2 separate regions of the Homo sapiens genome follow, and region 2 is linked to region 1. The links are contacts of gene promoters, found by promoter capture Hi-C in human tissues and cell types (Jung and others, 2019). All regions are on one chromosome and are shown on one strand. The core of a region is centred on a gene start or on the middle of the fragment in contact, and the rest is flanking DNA. Distances in the headings are between cores, read along the strand shown.

Evidence for each region. Contacts are between HindIII fragments. The study calls those that stand out against the background at their distance.
Region 2: a contact is called between a fragment that was not itself captured here and the fragment with the promoter of CWF19L1 in region 1, in 2 of the 25 tissues and cell types used here (neural progenitor cells and thymus).

What each region holds. Positions count from the first base shown.
Region 1 is chr10:100,266,205-100,269,256 of GRCh38, reverse strand. CWF19L1 (CWF19 like cell cycle control factor 1) reads left to right here and starts at 1,619. Exons shown (of 14, transcript NM_018294.6): 1 at 1,619-1,686. The coding sequence starts at 1,664. The HindIII fragment of the contact is 27,589 bases long and covers 1-3,052 here.
Region 2 is chr10:99,911,096-99,914,147 of GRCh38, reverse strand. All of the region lies in intron 4 of DNMBP (dynamin binding protein), which reads left to right. Among named protein-coding and RNA genes, the nearest start is that of DNMBP-AS1, 15 kb to the left of the region's middle. RefSeq lists enhancers at 1-249, 250-872. The HindIII fragment of the contact is 4,920 bases long and covers 1-3,052 here.

The DNA.
Region 1 (3,052 bases), core at 370-2,869:
TTTTTAAATTTGTAGTAGAGACGAGGTCTGGCTATGTTGCCCAGGTTGGCCTTGAACTCCTGTTCTCAAGTGAACCTCCCGCCTCAGCCTCCCAAAGTGCTGGGATTACAGGCATGAGCCACTGTGCCTGGCCTGTAGTTCTTCTTTAATCTTATGTTTTATTAATTTTGAATTATTTAGATGCCCTTGATGAGTCTTCCTTTCCCCGCAGTCGTCAGGAACTCTCTCTTGTTTCCATTTCCTTACACACTTGTTTCCTACCACTTGGCCTGAACCCTTCAAAAAAGTCAATATTACAAAAACTAAAACCAAATAGGTAGGAGGGCTTTTGTAGATTAAAATAGAGACAGAACCAAATGCAAGTGTGAAACTTGATTGCATCTGAATCAAAACAAGCCCCAAATATAAAATCAGTTTGTAGGGAAATATGGAGAACTTTAAATATGGATGTATATTAGGTAATATTATTGAATAATTAATGTTAATTTTCTTAGCTGTGTTAATAGTATTACGGTTATGTAGGAGGATATCCTAATCTTAGGAGATAAATGGAGATGTATTCCTGTTGTCCGCACTTTATTTTATTTTATTTTTTGACACGGAGTCTCGCTCTGTCGCCCAGGCTGGAGTGAAGTGGCGCGATCTCGGCTCACTGCAACTTCCTCCTCCTGGGTTCAAGCGATTCCCCTGCCTCAGCCTCCCGAGTAACTGGGACTGCAGGTGCGTGCCACCACGCCCGGCTAATTTTTTGTATTTTTAGTAGAGAGGGGGTTTCACCGTGTTAGCCAGGATGGTCTGGATCTCCCAAAGTGCTGGGATTACAGGCGTGAGCCACTGCGCCCGGCCTGTACTTTACTTTCAAATGATTGAGTGAGAATGGAAGGGCTTGGGCACTTTGAGAGAAAGAGAACACAAGCAAATTTGCCAACATGCTGAGACTTACTGAATCAAGGTAATAGCCATTATTCTTTTAACTTTTTTTTTTTTAATTTGAGACGGAGTTTCGCTCTTGTTGTCCAGGCTGGAGTGCAATGGCGCGATCTTGACTCACTGCAACCCCCGCCTCCCTGGTTGAAGCAATTCTCCACCATGCCCGGCTAATTTTTGTATTTTTAGAAGAGACGGGGTTTCACCATGTTGCCCAGGCTGGTCTTGAACGCCCGACCTCAAGTGATCCGCCCGCCTCAGCCTTCCAAAGTGCTGGGATTATAGGCGTGAGCGTCCACGCCCGGCCTCTTAACTTTTTGATAGGTTAAAAACTTACAAAAAACGTGGATAGAGGGGGTCTGTCTTGCCCACTAGACCGATATGGTTAGGTTAGGTTAGGTTAGGTTAGGTTAGGTTAGAACCCGACATTGTGCTCTGTACTTCCTAGCCATTCATTCGCTTCAAGTGCTCTGAAATTTAATTTAAAAAATCATAGTTGGAATCCTTTCGGTCACTTTCTCTTTCTCCCTTCGTTCCTCCCTTTCCCTCTTGATTCTTCCTTGAGGCGCAAACACCTGAGAGAGGCTTCTGTCCCTCGGCGGTCTCCGTAAGTAAGTGAACCGTTATTGGCTGGAGGGCGCTGACGTCTGATTGTTGCGCGGTCGCATTTTTCCGGGGAGCGCGGATTCGCATTCCCAATTTTAGGTGGCAGTCGCAACCCATACTATTCGGACAGATGGCACAGAAACCGCTGCGCCTGTGAGTGACCGTGAATGGAAGCCTCTCTCCCTGTGTCTCTTTCGTGTGTGTAGGTGACGACACGGGCGGGAGTCTTTCCCATGACGGGAAGGGAGAAGGAAAAGGCGGAGAGACACGGGGCTGCTGGGGAGCTTAGGTGATGTCTTTGCCTGGCCGGGGCTGACCTCTTTTCCTGGCCCTTTTCGCTTCTGAGGGGGTTTCTCTTGGCGACGCTCGTTCGGAGAGGCGGAAGCTCCCAGAGTTAGGCCTCCTCCATCTTAGGGGGCAGTCCTGGCCTCTGACACATCCTTTCCCCTTCGTTTCTCCTGACCCCATTTATTTACTCGCCAAATAGCCATTGGGCCCACTGATGGGCCCTGGGCAGTGGTGGACAGAGTAGATAGGGACCCTTCCCTGGGGCATTTTTTTTTTTTTTTTTTTTTTGCGAGGAGGAGGGGTGGGGGTGGTGGTGAAGAGAGGGCTTCATGCAGCAAGTATTTATTGAAGAACTGCAGTGTGCCGGACGCTGTGCTAGGTGTTGCAACAGATGGAGTTCCTGCTTTAATGGAGCGTAGAGTCTAGAGGAACAGGTACTAAAGAATCCAGATAATGGGCCGGGCGCGGTGGCTGAGGCAGGAGAATCGCTTGAACCCGGGAGGCGGAGGTTGCTGTGAGCCGAGATCGCGCCACTGCACTCCAGCCTGGGCGACAGAACGAGACTCTCAAAACAAAACAAAACAAAACAAAACAAACAAAAAACAATACAAATAATGGCCGGGCGCGGTGGCTCACGCCTGTAATCCTAGCACTTTGGGAGGCTGAGGCGGGCGGATCACTTGCGGTCAGGAGTTCGAGACCAGCCTGGCCAACGTGGTGACACCCCGTCTCTACTAATACAAAAAAAAAAAATTAGCCAGGCGTGGTGGCGCGTGCCTGTAATCCCAGCTACTTGGGAGGCTGAGGCAGGAGAATCGCTTGAACCCGGAGGCGGAGGTTGCACAGTGAGCCGACACTGCACCTCTGCACTCCAGCCTAGGTAACAGAGTGAGACTCCGTCTAAAAAAAAAGGAATTCAGATAAATGTAAAGTTACCATAGTGATAGGGCCAGGCGCAGTGGCTCACGCCTATAATCCCAGCGACTCCGGAGGCCAAGGCAAGAGAATCACTTGAGTCCAGGAATTCAAGACCAGCCTGGGCAATATAGCAAGGCCCCGTTTCTACAAAAAATACAGAAAAAAAAAAAAATTAGCCGGGCGTGGTGGTCCCAGCTAATTGGGAGGCTGAAGCAGGTGGACCACCTGAGCCTGGGGAGGTCGATGCTGCAGTGAGCTGTGATCGTGCTGCTGATCTCCAGGCTGGGTGACAGATTGAAACCCTGTCTCAAAA
Region 2 (3,052 bases), core at 349-2,848, 360 kb after region 1:
AGGACAAGCCCTGCTGTGATAGCCCGGGTGACTTGCGCGATTCATATGTAAATGTGGGAAGCCTGGGGGAAATGCCGACCCTATTCAAAGGAGTTTGGGGGGTTGTGGAGCATTCCAGAGCTCTGGGAAGATTCTGTCCCGCCTGCTTACCCTCAGGCCCACACCTCCACACACAGCCAGCTCTGGGCACTGCAGGTAGGTCCTGGGGTGTGGGAGCCAGCACAGAAGGAAGTGGAACAGGCAGCCTCTTCGTCCCTGTTCAAGGGCACCTGGGATCTGGCCGGGAGCTCAAAATTTTCCCCATTAGAGATAGATCCAGCTTTCTGAGGCAAGGGAAGGGCGCATGGCTCTGCTCTTTAACTCTGAAGTGTGTGTGATGGAGTTGTGGGAAGCCGTGGGCTAATGACTCCCTTCCTTCGAACTTTAGGAAGTGAGCCTGGTGATAATGTACTAACCGGAAAGGGCTGGGGGTGTCTTGAGAAGGAATGGAATCAGGACTTGGGGTGGGGGGTAAGCCACAATCACTGAAGGAACCCCACAACTAATTGTTTTATCACAGGAAGTAAATTTGTGCAACAGTCCCAGCTCCTTTAACACCTGCCGGGCTATCCTAGGAAGAAAGTAAGAGCTCGTCTGCACATTTTATTGTTCTCATAGAAAAGTGGAATTTTAGAGTCTGCACAGGGCACTTTTCTGCTTGGTACATTTTACCAAGTGTATTTACCATCTATCAGGTGCAGATGGCATATTCGGGCCCATTGTGGGAAAAGGACTTATGTTTGTTGGGTTATTACCTTGTTTAACTCCCTCAACTACTCTGCAAAGCAAGTATTATTATCCTCATTTTATAGATTGGGAAATTGAGGCCAAGAGATAAAAGTGGACATTTCCAAGGCTCCCCAGCTACATAGTGGGGAAGTGCAAGATTCAAAGCTTCTTTTTCCACCACAGCTGGCTGGGGGTGAAGGCCGCCTTCTCCCGCTTTGTTGTCCGGGATACTAAAAATTTAATTTTTTTAGAGACGGGTGTCTCACTATATTGCCCAGGCTGGTCTTGAACTCCTGGGCTCCAGCAGTCTTCCCACCTCAGACTCCCAAAGCGCTAGGATTACAGGCATGAGCCACCACGCATGGCCCAGATACTAAAATTTTAGAGCAGATATTTTTATTAGAATATATGTGGCATAAAGGAAAAAGTTTTTATACTTACAGTCATTTCAAGCCAGACTTTAAAATTTGACTTAATCTTTGAAAACTCTCTTTGAGTGTTAATAAATGTTTGTGGCACCTGAAGGTCACCTGTGTCTTCAGAAATACCTTGGGTTGCCAGGAGCAGTGACACATGCCTATAGTCCCAGCTACTTGGGAGGCTGAGGTGGGAGGATCGCTTGAGAGCCCCAGGAGTTTGAAACTAGTCTGGGTAACAACCCCCTCCTTTAAAGAGAGAGGAAGAGAAAGAGGAGGGAAGGAAACACCTAGGGTTTTATTAAAATTGCGGATACCCCGGTCCCACCCAGGTTTGCTGAATCTGAATCCCAGGGATGGTGTCCAGGAAACTGCAATATAGTGAAAACATCCCACAGGGGTTTTTAATCACACCAAAGTGTTTGGGTTTTTAAAGGCTGCTCAAGAGTTTATAAACCCCATTTTCGGGGGGTGGGGGCACAGGGGAAGGCACGCTGGTAGTTTAAAAGAATTGTTATTGTTTTTCTCCATTTTAAAGAAATAAAAATCTAATACATAGGCTGGCTGGCTTCTGATTGATGAGTAAGTGCTTGCTGGTACTTTGTGTTTTCAACTACTATAATTAGTAGAATTTTGATTCTCAGGAGAGTACACAGTGGTTTCCAGGGAGTTTTTAAGATTTGAAGCAAATAAGCCCCTGACCTTTTCTCATTGAGATTCCAGGCCAGGGAAACCAAATGGTGCAGGATTAAGTGCACAGGATTTGGATTTAAATATATTTAGGTTCTAAATCCACAACTGCCATTTACTCACTATATAACCTCAGACAAGTTTGTCAGCCTCTCCAAGCCTGGATTTTCTTACCTATTAAATGGGAGTAATAATACCTACTTAAAAATTCTGATGTGAGTATTAAATGAGTTCAGGGATATAATCTGTAAAGTACCTGGCATGTGATAGGAATTCAGTAAATGTTCTCCCTCTCCAGAGCTTTTTAGTCTTGTATTTAAAATGAGTTTCTATTCTCAACTTGGCACTAATGAGACCATATTTGGGATTGAAAGTCTGTTGCTTTGAGATCACAAAGAAAATTTAAAACAAGCCTATTAGAAATAAATTTTATATGTAACACAATGAATTTAGAATCATAATCGAACACTGATGAAATCAGGGTTATGCTTCAAGTTTTGCCATTCATTCTACCAAAAAGTTCGAGAAAGAGCTTTTTCTGTTATGTCTTAAGTTTTATTTTGAATAATACCAAATATACAGAAAATTGCAATAGTACAATGAAAACTCCTGTATACATTTTATACAAATTCACCCATATTTAACATTTTGCTGTTTTTATCTCATTCTCTGTCAATCCCCACTCTCCACATGCAGTTTTTTTTTCTTTAATGAACTAAGAGTACATTGCATATATTGTGCCCCTTAGTAAGCTTCAGTGTGTATTTTGTATGAACATGGATTTTTTTTTGAGATGGAGTCTTGCTCTGTTCTCCCAGGCTGGAGTGCAGTGGTGCAATCTTGGCTCACTGCAACCTCTGCCTCAGCCTCCTGAATAGCTGGAATTACAGGCAAAATACAAATTTTTGTATTTTTAGTAGAGATGGGGTTTCACCATGTTGGTCAGGCTGGTCTCGAACTTCTGACCTCAGGTGATCTGTCCGCCTCAGCCTCAGACTCCCAAAGTGCGGGGATGACAGGCGTGAGCCACTGCACCTGGCCAGATTTTTTTTTTACTCAGGCTGGAGTGCAGTGGCATAATCTCAGCTTACTGCAACCTCTGCCACCCAGGCTCAAGCCATCCTCCCACCTCAGCCTCCTGAGTAGCTGGGACTATAGGTGTGTGCCAGTCCATGTGC